2 separate regions of the Homo sapiens genome follow, and region 2 is linked to region 1. The links are contacts of gene promoters, found by promoter capture Hi-C in blood cells and fetal thymus (Javierre and others, 2016). All regions are on one chromosome and are shown on one strand. Each heading gives the region's core, a stretch centred on a gene start or on the middle of the fragment in contact. The rest is flanking DNA. Distances are from core to core; before and after follow the strand shown. Region 1 holds the start of MLYCD (malonyl-CoA decarboxylase). Region 2 overlaps MBTPS1 (membrane bound transcription factor peptidase, site 1).

Evidence for each region. The method cuts DNA at HindIII sites, captures the fragments that hold promoters and counts their contacts. A CHiCAGO score of 5 or more calls a contact.
Region 2: a contact is called between a fragment that was not itself captured here and the fragment with the promoter of MLYCD in region 1, in 1 of 17 cell types (neutrophils). The highest score is 5.7, in neutrophils.

The regions. Positions count from the first base shown.
Region 1 is chr16:83,896,454-83,904,329 of GRCh38, reverse strand. MLYCD (malonyl-CoA decarboxylase) reads right to left here and starts at 5,215. Exons shown (of 5, transcript NM_012213.3): 1 at 4,658-5,215. The coding sequence starts at 5,185. RefSeq lists silencers at 4,546-4,715, 5,016-5,445. The HindIII fragment of the contact is 8,175 bases long and covers 1-6,579 here.
Region 2 is chr16:84,092,159-84,100,034 of GRCh38, reverse strand. MBTPS1 (membrane bound transcription factor peptidase, site 1) reads left to right here. Exons shown (of 23, transcript NM_003791.4): 3 at 725-982; 4 at 4,230-4,433; 5 at 6,214-6,324; 6 at 6,738-6,847. Among named protein-coding and RNA genes, the nearest start is that of MBTPS1, 21 kb to the left of the region's middle. RefSeq lists an enhancer at 7,287-7,876. The HindIII fragment of the contact is 4,965 bases long and covers 2,729-7,693 here.

The DNA of each region.
Region 1 (7,876 bases), core at 3,966-6,465:
TTCCTGGGGTACATGGACTCCTCTGATACTTATCTATGGACCATCCCAGGGGCCAGGAGGGCTTCTGTACCCCAGTTTAGGAACGGATGAGCTGAGCTCTGCGTAAGAGGTACTGGTATCTGTCTTACATTCGTGATATGAAAAAAGCTGGAAATACCTAGTTTTACTATCAATTTAATATTAATTATGAAAGAAATGGTTTGGCTGATGAAAGCTCCTCCCCTACAGATCTCTTCATTCTATTTTGGGCTCCTGACAGCTACAAAATGTGACACTGGTACACGAGAACTGGGAATCCAGGCTAAAGGTTAGAAGTCTCCGTTGCTCAGTTCTAACACCGGCAGCAGCTGTTCAGGCTGGGATGAGCCACAGCACGCGGCAACGTTGCCAGGATACAAACACCACCAGGGAAAGAGGCCTCTGCAACTGTACGTGCGTTAATTCAGGCACCATTTATCACCAATACAAGACTGAGAAACACAACTGCGGGGAATATCCTGGTGATGCTAAGGGCAGCGACAGTTCTCAGTGGATTCTGCTGGAGTGTTTCTTATTTTTTTTTTCAGAGGCAGGTCTTGCTCTGTTGCCTAGGCTGCACTTGAACTTCCGGGCTCAGCTGAACCTCCCAAGTAGCAGGGACTACAGGTGCGTGCCACTGCACCCGGCTCTGTGTATTGTGTATTGTTAATTCCATTGACTTGTATGACACCGTTTAGACCAGCCCACTTTTCCTTTTAAAAGAGAAACTGGTTCCCTCTCTTTTGAAGCTCTATCAAGATCTGCTTATTTTGGTATGTGAAGAAAAGTTACCTTCCCTTGTCCAGAAGCCCTGCTCTGGGGAAGGGAGGATAAAGTCATGGATGAGGGTAGCACTGCAGAGGCTGAGAAATTTGGGGAAAATTCCCACTCACGTAAGCTGACACTCCGCAGGTGTACACTTGATGCTATGGGTATACTGTCCTATCTAAAAATAAGTATTATTTAGCATAGGTAAGCACAGAATTTACTAGAACCAACAAGGAGTACTCAATTAACTAAAAGGCAGAGGGTACGCAGGTGTCTAGCATGGCCGGGTGGCTGTGGCAGTGGGAACCAGGTCCCTTCTCTAGTTTCTGTGCCTCTGTTAAGGTTGGAGCACCTCTCATTCCACCCTAACAGCAAGGTCCAAACTGCCCATGAGGAACCCTTTCCATGAATTAAAGGCCAACCTTCCTCGAGTGCCCACAAATCACTGAACCTCGCTCAGACCTTCCCCTCTACTGGGGATTCGACTCGGTTTCACTGGGATTTCACCTCTAAGAAACTGAAGTCATCAACCAACTGGGCCTCTGGAGAAAAACAAAAAGCCTATAAACCACCATCCCCCAGACACATCACATCCTCATACCCACACCTACCATGCAACCACAGGGACACACATACCTCCAAACTCCTCTACATTCAGGAGGCCACAAATCCAGGCAGTAACAAGCCTCCAAACTCACTCAGATCAGAGGAAAAGAACATTTTAAAAAGTAAGAACACAGCCAGGCACAGTGGTTCACACCTGTAATTCCAGCACTTTGGAAGGCCAAGGCGGGCGGATCATCTGAGGTCAGGAGTTCCAGACCAGCCTGGCCAACATAGCAAAACCCCATCTCTCCTAAAAATACAAAAATTAGCCAGATGTGTTGGCAAGCACCTGTATTCCCAGCTACTCAGGAGGCTGAGGTGGGAGAATGGCTTGAACCTGGGAGGCGAAGGTTGCAATGAGCAGAGATTGTGCTGCTGCACTCCAGCCTGGGCAACAGAGCAAGACTCTGTCTCAAAAAAAAAAAAAAAAAAATCAGATTAAAAAAATAGATCAGATCATACCACATTAAGTGATTCTGGTGAGAGGTTACAATATCAGATCCCAGTTGATAGTTTATAGGTACAGAACAATCTAATTCTATTCTAAGACTGATTTAAGCGACAGGGATTTTAAAAAAATTACATCTGGGCTCACACCTATCTATAATCCCAGCACTTGGGATTGGAGGATTGCTTGCTTGAGGCCAGGAGTTCAAGACCAGCCTGGGAAACGTAACAAGAAAAAACATAAACATGAACAAAAAAATAAACACAAACAAAAAACCGTAAACAACAAAACAAAAAACCATATATATATATATATATATATATATATATATATACGCACGCACACACACACACACACATATACACATACATATATATGTGTATATATGAGAAAACAACTACGTAGAACAAGGGAAGGGGAAGGGAATTAATAGGTTCAGCTACTAACAGTTACATGCACTGAATATAAGGCTGGGGTTTCTAGGTAAAGAAATGGAAGGGGCACAATAAAGCAATCACAGAAAGGCTCCTGAAGCCATTATGTCCAAACCATATGCAGAGGCAAAGATCAGACTGTCGTTATTCATTCTGTTTGATAAACACCTCTGGTCCACAGGACTTTTGGCCTAGCATTACAGTATGCAATGTTTTTTTCCCTTCTGTAAATAGCCTTGGTCAAAAAGCAAGGAAACTTGTGAATGTCTAAGGACTCAGCAGCCTCTGTATTTCCCAGGGGCCAGCTCCTTTCTCTCAACAGTCAAGTCTGGATGTGAGTGTCTTCAGTTGCCATGCAACGTGTTCCTTCCCAATGACGCGATAACCAAGAGTTTTCTTGAGTGGGGAAGAACAAAAGGATGTATTCCACAGCATCTCACAGAACCAGAGAATTCAGAATTGGACCGGATGTGAGAAATCAATGAGGGACAAAGCTGTCCAAATGTCTGATATGAGGACCCTCTCAGCTGGGCAGAAACCTTTCAAGTCCTTCATGGCTTTCTCTCAGGCTCAAAAATCTATGACTGAGTGTGGGGCAGACTCACCTCCACACAAATGCTGAATGATTAGTGTGTCAAGTGTGTCTTATGCCAGGACACCCAGGAATCTATTGCAATGATTCATTCATCATTCTGCTATGCAAGAAATTTAAAGACAAGTTTCCCAGTTTTCGAGGAGCTGATCATTTACATGGGGGGATGATATACTGCAAGTACTATGTCCAAGTGTGGATCAGAAAAACTCAGCTATTCAGACTAGGCTTGAGCCCAGAACATGATAATTCAACACAGTAAGAATTCATGACTGATTCTGTGTCATGCAATTAGCAACTGTGGGCTTTCTGTCTGAGAATCTTACGGCCAAAGATGCCTGGCCCTCAGTAACACTTAGCGCTGTAAATTAACCAGCTATCACGGGGAATCAAATCATGGCCACTGTTGTCACTCTTGACATTAATCCCATACTTAATTATGCCCAATTTTATGCATCTAAGTAGCCAAAAAAGAAAGTTTCTAATAAACATCTGATTAACGGTAAGACAGTGATATAAAGCGTAGTGCAAATAACCCTGGATTAGGGTGGGTGATCAGCAAGAGCTTTTCGCTCTGAATTTCAGGACAAGTAACACAACCTCAGCATGTTCTCCTTTACTGTAAAAGGGATACGTGTTATCACCCACGTAAGACTGAAGGAATGTAAACTATTAAACCAGTATTAGAGTTCTTAAATGGGTCAAGTCATAATCATTCAAGTGTTCAATTTTTTTTTAACACCAACTGCACATAACAAACTTCTGAATGTCCAAAACTTCCTGAAACATTTACGTCATTTTTCGTTCATTAAAAGGGCAGGTTAAGCCTGGGCCACATGGTGAAACGCCCTCTCTACAAAAAAAAAAAAAAAAAAAAAAAATTAGCCGGGCATGGTGGCCTGCACCTGTAGTCCCAGCTACTCAGGAGGCTGAGGTGGGAAGATTGCTTGAGCCTGGGGAAGTCGAGGCTGCAGTGAGCCGTGATAACACCACTGTACTCCAGTCTGGGCAACAAAAATAAAAATAAAAAAAGGGCAGGTTAGTTTTTCGCCGTATTTAATACTAACAGTATAAAAGAAGAGTATATGTTGCTCTAGGCCTTCTTTCGGGTCATAATCATTTAAATCTCAAAGTATGTGTCTGCATTTAACATGAATGAACTGTGCTAATGCCTGATTACCTCAAGTCAACTCAGAATCATCACATTAAGTACTGAACGCAGGGAGTTAAATGCCCTCCCAAAAGTCATGGAGCACAGACAAGGCCAGAAGCCATGGAGACTCCTGGGTGGTGGTGGTGACCTTGAGTCCTATTTACCTTTGTGCATTTCACAGGACTTCTCAGGACAATGTCTCACACATAGCGGGTGCCCAGTGAACTTCTGAAACACCATCCAGGGTCTCAGAAGGCTGCCTGATGCTCTAGTTCAGGTATACCATATAGATGAAACACTTCTCAGCTACAATAATTTCAAAAGACTGTAGAGCACACACTAATCAGGTACGAGAGGTGACAGCTACCTTAAAGACCACCAAGTGCTGAGTATTTAGTAAACACTATACAAGTGAGGACTTCAAGGACAGACTGGAGGAAGGCGGGGGTGTGCTCTGACGAGGCCAGGACTCAGACAGCGTGGGAAGGGGACACAGTTGGCAGGCGGTAACTGCGGGCGAAGTGAGCGTGCTATCGGGCAGGGAAGGCGGGGTGTGTGGGACTTGGAGGGGGCAAGTGAGGACTACTCGAGGAGGGCGGCCAGTCCGCGCTGCCGGGGGATCGACGGCGGCCCCTTACCCGGACGTCCGGCCCCTCCACCAGCTTGAGGGCCTGCGCCTCCAGCAGGTCGGCCCGCAGCTGCACCAGGAAGCGCACGCCGCCGTCCAGCTTGCTGATGTGGTGGAAGAGGCCGCGATAGCGCGGCACCAGCGCGTAGCGCAGCCGGTCCTCGGCCTGCAGCAGCACCGCCGCCTCCCGCTGCTGCTGGCGCAGATGGAGCACGCCGGCGCTCTGCTCCGCCACCTGGCCGTGGTCCACGCCGAAGCCCCGCGCCAGGCGGCCCAGCAGTTCGGCCCGCTGGGCCGTCTCGGCCAGCCCACCGTAGAAGCTCACGAAGTCCGCGCACTGACCCTCGGCGGGCGCCGGTGTCTTCTCGCGCAGCTCGTAGGCCGGCGTCGGCGGCACCGCGCGGCGCAGCAGCTCGTCCATGGCCCGCTCCAGGGCGCCGGCCGCCTGCCCGCTCGCCAGCCGGGGCCCGGGCGGCCGCGGGGGCAACCGCAGCGGGAGGAGACGCCTGGCCGTCAAGCCTGGCCCGAAGCCTCGCATGGTGCCCCACAACAGCTGCCGAGGGGGAGCGCCGCCGCCGCTGCCGCGCTTCCGGCTTCCGGCGCGCGCCGGCCCCATTGGCCGAGGCCGCGAGCCCGGCTGGGGACGCGGCCAATAGGAGGGCGGGGCGGTGGGGGCGAGGCGGCGGGGGCGGAGCGGCTCTGGCGGCGGCCGGAGGCCAAGTGTGGCTAAAGGTTACTGCCCCGCGGCTGGGCTGCCTCGGGGCCTGCTCCCGCGCGGCTGGCGGCTTGTACTCCGGTCCTAACACCTGACCGCCTAAAGGCACCGGCCCAGCCCCTCCTCTCTTTCCCGACTGCACTGCACAAGTGCCGCCTCCTCTCTAGATCCGAGCGCCTCCAGCCTCCCGGTGCATCAGAGTCACCTGGGAACTCCTGCACCGGAGGATTCCTGGGCTCCGAAATCAGAATCCTAGAGATTCAGATTCAGTGTGTCTGGGAGGAGCCAAGGAATATGCTTGCTTAAGAGGTGTTTGTGGCAATCCTCTGGCATGGTAGGTAGCCTTTGTTTGACCCCTGCCTAGGCACTCACCATTCGCGTCAGTGTCTTACACACATGACGCTCAGAGCCACAGAGGTTGGAGGGGTGTGTGAGTGTGTGTGGAGAGAGAGAGAATATGTCTATATGTATGGATGTATGTACACATACGCACGCATATACACATACATATGTATGTAAAAGAGACATGGAGACAGAGAGACTGATGGAAAGCCATACCCTTGAGCAAATGCCAGAATGAGACAAAGAGTTTTCTTTGAAATAGTTTTCAGATAATTGCAGTTATCAAGGCATATTTATTTTGTCCTCTAGAAAGATAGGCCTGAACTCTAGTTCCCCCTCCTTCCCCAATCCATTACAATCTGTAGAAGAGAATGTCACATACCAGCCATGTCTCCCACATGCAAAATTGCAGGAGGCATTAGGAACACAGTGGGATTTTGTTCCACTCTGATGGAAATATGGCATCTTTGGTTGGAGGGTGAGGGAGCCATGTACTTGGTTGACTATGTCTAGGTGCTAGGATTTCTATAGGTAGAACCCTTTGGTGCAGGTCTTGCAGTATAAAAGACACCTGGAGGTAGTTCTGTATGAGGACAGCCTTTGCTGGGTGTGTCTCATCTTATGGGGCACGAAGAAAGTACGTTTGGCTCATTCTGCCAAGACACAGACACACAAAACATTCTGAAAGCCTAGTGGTGGCTTTTGAGGACACCTCTCCATTCCTCTTTTCTAAGAAGTGGTGAAACCATATTGCCAGCTGGCTAAGGGAGTTGGTGGGGTCCAAACTCTGGTGTTTGTCTCTTTGCCTTGTCGAGTGAGCTTTTGTCTGTCCTAGGATACTCCTGCCTTGCTTTAGGAATCTTGTCTTGAAAGCTTGACTTTGCTTAAGCATTTGCTAAGTGTAGTACTCCCACAACCCTGTTCTTTCTCATCTTTCCCGGTGCCTTCCTTTTTATGTAATTTCTGGCTTCTGTTTTTTTTTTCTCTGTGTTTATACTTTTTTCTCTAGGCGTCAACAGCCATCCTCTGCTTTTTCCCACTCATGTCCTTATTTCAAAAGACTGCCCCAATCCAAAAATGAAATTAAAGAAACAATTCTATTTACAACAACATCTGAAGGGATAAAAGAAACATGTTTAACCAAGGAAGTGTGAGACTGGTAGATGGAAAACCACAGAACAGTATTGAAGGAAATTAAAGAAGACCTAAACAAATGGAATGGTCCATGCATGGTTCATGGATTGGAAGATGTAATATTGTTAATATAGCTCATATGGTTTGGATCTGTGTCCAACCAAATCTCATGTCTAGTTGTAATCCTCAGTGTTGGAGGTGGCGCCTGGTAAGAAATGATTGGATCATAGGGGCAGAGTTCTCATAAATGGGTTAGCACCATCCCCGCTTGGTACCCTACAGTGAGTTCTCAGGAGATCCGGTTGTTTAGAAGTGTGCATCACCACCCCCTCTCTCCTGCTCTGGCTATGTGAAGCTCCTCACTCCCCCTTTGCCTTCCGCCATGAATGGAAGCCTCCTGAGGCCTCTCCAGAAGCAGAAGCCACTACGTCTTCTGTACAGCTTGTGGAACCATAATCCGATTAAACCTCTTTTCTTTATGAATTACCCAGTCTCGTGTATTTCTTTATAGCAGCGTGAGAATAGACTAATACAATGGCAATACTCCCAAAATTAACCTACAGATCTAATACAATCCCTATTAAAATTTCACTGCCCTTTTTTTTTTTGCAGAAATAGAAAAACATATTCTAATATTTATATAGAAATGCTAGGGGCCCTGAGTGGCCAAAACAATCTTTAAAAAGAACAAACTTACTACAAAGCCACAGTAATCAAAATAATGTGGTATTGGCAGAAAGATAAAACACAAAAATCAATAGAATAAAATTGAACATTCAGAAATAAACCCATCTATGGTCAATTGATTTTTTTTTTTTTTTTTGAGACAGAGTCTCACTCTGTCACTCAGGCTGGAGTGCAGTGGCATGGTCTCGGCTCACTGCAACCTCTGCCTCCCAGGTTCAAGTAATTCTCCTGCCTCAGCCTCCTGAGTAGCTGGGACTACAGGTGTGTGCCACCACACCCAGCTAATTTTTGTATTTTTAGTAGAGACAGGGTTTCACTAAGTTGGCGAGGCTGGTCTCGAACTCCTGACCT
Region 2 (7,876 bases), core at 3,962-6,461, 200 kb before region 1:
GATGTGAAGAACTGAGCAAATAGTCTCACATAATCCACTCTGGAATTTTGTTACTGTTTTCGTTTTAAGAAACACTAACTGAGCATTCAGTTCTCTGAATTTCTTTTTCCTACTTGATAAAAATTATATACATTTCTTTGTTGTGTATTCAAACTTCTGTAGGTATTTGCTTTTTAAAAAAATATCACGGGTATCTGGTTTCGAATGATGTATTCTTTGTGGTTAGGTGATTCATAGAGATCTTTTTTTTTTTTTTTTTGAGACGGAGGCTTGCTCTGTCACCAGGCAGGAGTGCAGTGGTGCAATCTCTGCTTACTGCAATCTCCGCCTCCCAGGTTCAAGTGATTCTCCTGCCTTAGCCTCCCAGGATTATAGGCGCCCACCACCACACCCAGCTAATTTTTTGTATTTTTAGTAGAGATGGGGTTTCACTATGTTGGCCAGGCTGGTCTCAAACTCCTCACCTCGTAATCTGCCCACGTCAGCCTCCCAAAGTGCTGGGATTACAGGCGTGAGCCACCGCGCCCAGCCCCATATAGATCATTTTTCCTCAAAGCTCTGCAGACAGCTGTCTAGGTACTTAAACTAGTCTTTGTGTTTTCTCTCGTCTGCTGTGGGCTTTAAGATAATTTTTCTTTTGCCAGATTTTAGATTAGATACAATATAGTATATGTTATAATGTATGTGCGTAAATCTTATTTTTGTTTGTGGTGATTGGTTTCAGAATATATTGTGGCTTTCAATGGATACTTTACAGCCAAAGCTAGAAATTCATTTATTTCAAGTGCCCTGAAGAGCAGTGAAGTAGACAATTGGAGAATTATACCTCGAAACAATCCATCCAGTGACTACCCTAGTGATTTTGAGGTGATTCAGATAAAAGAAAAACAGAAAGCGGGGCTGCTAACACTTGAAGATCATCCAAACATCAAACGGGTCACGCCCCAACGAAAAGTCTTTCGTTCCCTCAAGTATGCTGAATGTGAGTATTGTGACTGTAGGCAAATTTCTCTCTGCTGTTTACTTTGAAAATCTCAAACTGCAGAGTAGTTGAAAAATAGTACAGTGAGTATCCGCATCCTTCCATCTAGTTTGCTAATTGTGAACATTTTCCTGGTAGGAATTTTTTAGTTTAGTTTTGTTTAGTGCGCAGGGTCGGTGTTGGGGGGGCAGAATTATTTTTTAAAAAGAGACTTCGTACTGTTCTGGTAGAAGAAAATCTGAGGGTTTGCAGTAGTAGATGGTAGTGATCTTTGTTTCTGTTGGAAGCGATTTTCGCCAGCTTCATCTCAAAGCCTTCAGACTTCAAGGCTGCGGCCGCCTTCTCGTGCTGAAAGACGCGTCCTTGTGTCTGCTTCTTCCTTGCATTTCGCTTCTCTCAGTGTGTGTTTTATTTTTTCTTTTCCTTTTTATTTATTTATTTTTTTGAGACGGAGTTTCGCTCTTGTTGCCCAGGCTGGAGTGCAGTGGCGCGATCTTGGCTCACCTCAACCTCCACCCAGGTTCAAGTGATTCTCCTGCCTTAGCCTCCCAAGTAGCTGGGATTACAGGCATGCGCCACCATGCCTGGCTAATTTTGTATTTTTAGTAGAGACAGGGTTTCTCCATATTGGTCAGGCTGGTCTTGAACTCCTGACCTCAGGTGATCTGCCTGCCTCAGCCTCCCAAAGTGCTGGGATTACAGGCGTGAGTCACTGCACCCAGCCCGATTTTTAAAGGCACTCTTGCAAAACATGTTTTCCTGGGGTTTCGTTTTGTTTTTGTCAAAGCCTCCTGACCAGGAATGGTCATGCATCAGCTGGGTTCGTTGAAGTCATCAGCTGTGCAGGTGTGAGCATGGAAGCAACTTGGCTTTTCCTTTTCTTCTCCAGGGCTTAGTCTTTCCTACTTCATTACAATTGGGCTTGTCAAAATAGAGTTTAGTCTCAAATAGTAAATTGCATATTTATTAAATGATATTTTCCAAAGATATGTGTTACCAAAGGAAAAGGGTTTTTTTTCCCTGTTTATCTTAAATCAGGTTAACAAATTTCTAGTTCTGTTATTATTTACGATCATTTCTTTCATCAGAAGGAAGAAGAAATTAAAATTTTACTCTTCTTTGTCTATCATATTTTAGGCCTAAGAGCCTCTGAGGTTTTGCTGCATTAAACACACACACAAACACACACACACACACACACACACACACACACACGAAGAGAAGTTTAATTTTCATAGTAAAACCAGGTGTAAACTTAAGGCGTCTGACTTTTTCAGAGCCTTTTCTGCTACTCCAGATGTTATGTATTATTCTCCTTAAAAAGCAGTAACACTTCAAAATAATCCAGGAAGATAAAAGCCAATCAAACCTGATACAGTTAGCCAAATGTATACATTGCGGTATTTTAGTTGACTTTATTTTTTACTTCAGTTATCTTAAAGAGCTCTAGAATGCTTTAGGAGACACGGAGTTGCCTAATTTTAGCACAAGAATCCTAGACTCTCTGGAGATGGGATTCCCATGGACACCATCTCCACTGCGTGTGTTCCGGGTGCCTGACACCCCTGTGAGGGGAGACTTGCCCACTGCGTTCCCATGCCCCTTGAAGTTAGCTGTGACCTTCAGCAGTAAGCGTCTTTTCCATCTTGAAGCCTCAGTTTTTCTCATTCATAAAATGGAGATGATACTCCCTACCTCGTGGGGCTGTCATGAAGATAACATGAAATAATGCATATGAAGAAAGCTTAGTAGAGTGTTCAAGATGTTGTAAGTAACCAAATGTTAACAGTTTCTCTGGCTGTTACTCGTAGAAGGTTTTGCTTTATTTTGGGCTGACACCATTCTCACTCTGCATCCCACCCATTTGGTTCTATCCCATGGGCCATAAGACAAAGCCTATCTGTTTTCTGCGTGACAGTAGTTAAAGATGTGGTGAAGATAGCTGTCTTTTTGATATTTGAAGATACCCATGGTGTGTCCCTTTTGGCAATTTTTTCTCTCCAGGCTAATCCTCAGTTCTTGCCATAGTTACTCAGGTGACTTGATTTCAAGTCCCCTCATCATTTTAAGTGTTTTCCTTTGAATGTACTAATTTTTCTAAATTGTTTGAAAGCTGTGAAGCCCTGAACTGAGTATAATACTGGAGGTGGAGTCTGGCCTGTGCAGGGTCAAGCAGAGCAGGCCCATTCCTGGTCTCAGTGTTGCTCTTCAGTCAGCACCTGCAGCATTGTCCCATGCTGTTGACTTAAAGATCAGACTCAGCAGAGGAATTTCAATTAAGAACCGTTTCAGTTGGACTGTGCAAATATTTACTTACCAGAATTGACGTGACTGTATGTGTTTCCAGGTCCCTGTACTTAACATGGGTGTAGGTTGGTAAGGCTAGAATAAAAATGACAGTGATTTGCTTTAGAAAGAGAACTGTATTGGTATTACAGATTTTCTCTTCTTAAAACTGATTTGAAATATGACTTGTTCATTATAACATGGTCTTTGAAAGGTTAAGGGAAAACCCTTAGGCCATTTCTGTGGTACTGCCTTTTTCCTCCGCTTTTTAAAAATAAAGAGACTTACAGATAGTAAAATTCGTCCTTTTTAGAGTATAGTTTGGCAAGTTTTGGCAAAAGTATACCATCAAATATCCACCAACAAAATCAAGATATGGAATAATTCCATCACCCTCAGAAATTCCCTGTCTCTCACTCCTGTGTAGTCCTTTTGTTTTTGAAAGGTGAAATTCTAGCAGATAAGAATATTGAGAATATTGAGCAATATACAGTTGTTTTAAGTCCTGTTGATATTTGATGGCTTTTGCCTGCCCAAGAAATCTAGTGAAACTTATAGTAAAAATAAAACTCAATGAATGCTTAGGGTCATTTTCTTTAACTTTTCCCCCTTCTGGTTCAGTGAGAACAAGTTGCTGATGAAAATCAGGTTTTTCTTTATTTTTATTATCACAATTAGCTTTTTAAAATTATTATTATTTAATTTAATCAGTCTTTCTTTGCCTTACCTTGGTTAGAAAATTTCAAGTAGAGAACTATTTGGGAGTAATATGACAGCTAAATAACGTCCTATAATTATAATTGCATTGAGACTGTCCTTCCAGAAAAAGAAGATAATCCCACTTTCCTTCAAACAGAGTGGCAAATGGTAATCCTCCCTGTGTTTAGGATAGTTTTGCCTGGCGGGTATCGTGTAGTTCGTTTTGCTCTTCTGTTCTGATCTTTCTCTCCCTTGCCTGTAGCTGACCCCACAGTACCCTGCAATGAAACCCGGTGGAGCCAGAAGTGGCAATCATCACGTCCCCTGCGAAGAGCCAGCCTCTCCCTGGGCTCTGGCTTCTGGCATGCTACGGGAAGGCATTCGAGCAGACGGCTGCTGAGAGCCATCCCGCGCCAGGTTGCCCAGACACTGCAGGCAGATGTGCTCTGGCAGATGGGATATACAGGTGTGTGCTATTACCCAGGGAAGGTGCTTATGGGATATACAGGTGTGTGCTATTACCCAGGGAAGGCGCGGAAAGTCCAGACATGCAGGAATTCCATGTTCGGGACTGCCTAGTGCTAAAGCCCTGCAGCCTTCCACATCTAACCTTCTTACTATTTGTTTAGCTGGAGGTAGCCAAGTACTCCTCATCTTTGACTCCTGTGATGCCAGGCATCTGTTTCTGTGGCTTTCCTAATTGTCACCATTTGTGTCTTATTTTTGTTACCATTTCTGAGGTTAGAAGGGAAGGCTGTGGAGCACTTCTCTCCTATTGACACATACACAAACGAGCACAGCGCTGCCGGCCACTGGCGCTGACCGACAGGCCTGCAGAAGTCTGTCACTTCTTGGGGAAAGATGGTCCCTGATCTGGGCAATTCCACGGAAATTAGTTTATCACTTGAGTTTGGTGTCCTGAATGCAGAGTGACTAAGTAATTGACTATCACACCTGCTGATGATTTGTTTCAGAACAGGAAGCAGTGTTAATGATCATGTCCTGTGAAATAAAATTCAGAACAATAAGGATTTTTCCCTTGCTGATTCATCATGACCAAACCTTCATGTTTTATCTAATGTGAAGATTTTTACCTTGACTTCTAAATGTAAGCCAGTTTCACCTGCTCCCAGGACAGCGCAGTTTGCCTCGGTGTCTTTCGTATATCCTTGACTTAGGGACCCTTACCTCTCCTTTGATCTCCTTGGCGCCCTGCCCTCCAAAATATCTGAGATACTTCAACTTTTAATACCCGGTGGACTGGCATTTCATTAAAATGTGTGTCTCCCCATGGTTTTACCTTTTTATGAGAACTCCTTGACAAAACAAATTTTCTAGTCATGAGAAATAATTTTTTATTCCCCCCAAACCAAATGATTTCTGATTTTGTGTGTGCATTTTTTAAAAGTAGCATTGATTTTTATATTTATCTCAGTTTAATAGATTATTTAACATAGTATTGATATGTACACAGCCCTTTTGCCAGAAAGACATTACCCTCTTTACATTGGTTAGCTGTTAAGTCATATAGGTATTCTGTATTTTTTTTCTAGATGCTTTCTAGAATTTTTGGTCAGACAGGCCAGTTGTATTTCACATTGGTGTTGATGGCTTTGGCCAGTATCTGGAATAGACTTACTATTATAGAAAAGTGCACACTGCAGTGATTTTTCTTAGGTGTGATTAGCCGCATGTGGTGTTAATTGTTCCTTGCGGCAGAGTTTGCTGTATTATAAATGAGCAGCATTGAATAAATTGCTGTCCTTATTGGGAATAGGAATGGTTCCCCCTTTTCCCATTTTTGTGTCCCGCTCCTTGGGTGTGTGGTTTGTGAGTGTTTTGCAGGGCCTCCGAGAAGGTGGGGGGTGGAGACCTGTGATAAATTGCCAGAAGGGGAGTATCAGTAGGTGCCAGCCTGGAGCCTTGAGAAGCCCGCTAGGAGTGGAAGGGGTGGTTCTATCCTGAGTGCTGGTGGCAATTGAGGAGGGTCTAGAAGGATTTTCTGCTTATCCTTAAATCTTATTTGGCGGCAGATGATGGCATTGCTCCTGCTGTCCTCTTTTCTTAGCCTTGGCTCAGCCAGCTGACCCTGGGAGCAGCTGACCTAACTTATTTGCTCTGAGCAGCTTTGGCCTTCCACAATATGTCATTTTCTGTGGGTCCCAGGAAGGAATGTATTTTATAGGCAAAATCCAAAATGATGATTTCTTCAAACATAATTGTGTTTGCTTTCTTTTCCGAATAAGGTGCTAATGTAAGAGTTGCTGTTTTTGACACTGGGCTGAGCGAGAAGCATCCCCACTTCAAAAATGTGAAGGAGAGAACCAACTGGACCAACGAGCGAACGCTGGACGATGGTGGGTCTCAGCAGCAGTGAGAACGTGGTCATGTGATCGACTGAGAGTGTGTTTAGTGCATGATTCCACAGTCTGTCCAGCAATTATTCAGACAAGCCCAAGGTGTTATTGTGCTTTTTGTTGTGGCAGAAACTGCTCTGAATACCTCATAGGATGTCGGGAGGTAGCACTTCAGGAGAGAGTGGGCATGCCTGGTGTGGGGGCAGCTCCCTGTCCCGGAGAGCGTGGAGTGGCTAGACCTGGAAGGGGTGCTTGTGCCAGTGACGTCTAAGGGGATCGTAGAGCAGCAGCAGAGGCCCTCCTCTATCCAGCACTTGGAAATGGAAGGCCGTGGAACTCATGGCCTGGAATGTTGCGTCCTGGCACTTGCTATTCAGTGTGTTTTATGGGATTGTTTTCTTTATGGACTGCAGGGTTGGGCCATGGCACATTCGTGGCAGGTGTGATAGCCAGCATGAGGGAGTGCCAAGGATTTGCTCCAGATGCAGAACTTCACATTTTCAGGGTCTTTACCAATAATCAGGTAGGTGTTTTGAGGACTCCTGAAACTTGAGGAATTCATACTGAAATGTAAAAAGCAGAATCACTGGACTGTACACACTTGTGTAAAAGGAGTGCACGTCAGTGACGCTGAGCCATTCATACTGCAGCACGCATGCTCAGTTTACTGTTCCTCTGCCTCCTGGGTGGCTCCGCCCTTCTCCCACCAACCACTGTGTCGACCTAAGTTGAACCCTGAAGACCCTGCCGAGGCTACTACTTACGACGATTCTTTGATTTCCCTTGTTTCTTCTCTACCTCCAGGCTTCCCCAGGCCTCTGTACCCTGGGTCGGTTGTCTGCATGATAGAACAGAACAATTGCAGATAGAATAAGTGTGCTTGCCTCCCTGATTGGGTTCCTACCACCTTGAGCTGTTTTATTTACCTCTGTGTCCCGACACCTGGCATTGTGTTGGGTAATGGGAGTTTACAAGCCTTGTTCCTTCACTCTTCATTTGGAAACTATAGAAAAGGGAGAGGGTCCTAGTATTTGTTTCTTTTTTCGTTATTTATTTTTTAAGGTTAATTTTTGAATAGGTAATGCATAGCTCAGAAATGTCAGAAGGTAACACAGTGAGACCCCCACCCCTGTCCCCGTCCAGCAGGTTCTTTCCTCACTGGCCCGTGTGTCCTGTGTGATGATGTTCCTTTCTTATACCTCCTCGTAGAATTTCTTTGGTGTATATGAGAAAATATAAGTACCTGGTCTTTTAAAAACCTTTAAAAACATAATCTTAATCATTACATTGCTTCTCTTCCTACCATAAACTTAATTTTATATTTTTTAAAAAAGCAACAGCTAAAGGTGATCCACAAAGTAATGAAGCTTTTGTAAGGAACATAGGAGCACTTGAACATCAGAAGACTAATACTGTGAAATAACTGTTACTGCTGCCATTTGTCCTTCAGTCTGTTTAGGAATGAAGAAGGTTAGATAGATAAGTTGAACTATTCCAAAATGCTTAACTTAATAGAAGTGCCTTGGGATAAGTCCTTTTGTAGGAGAGGGGC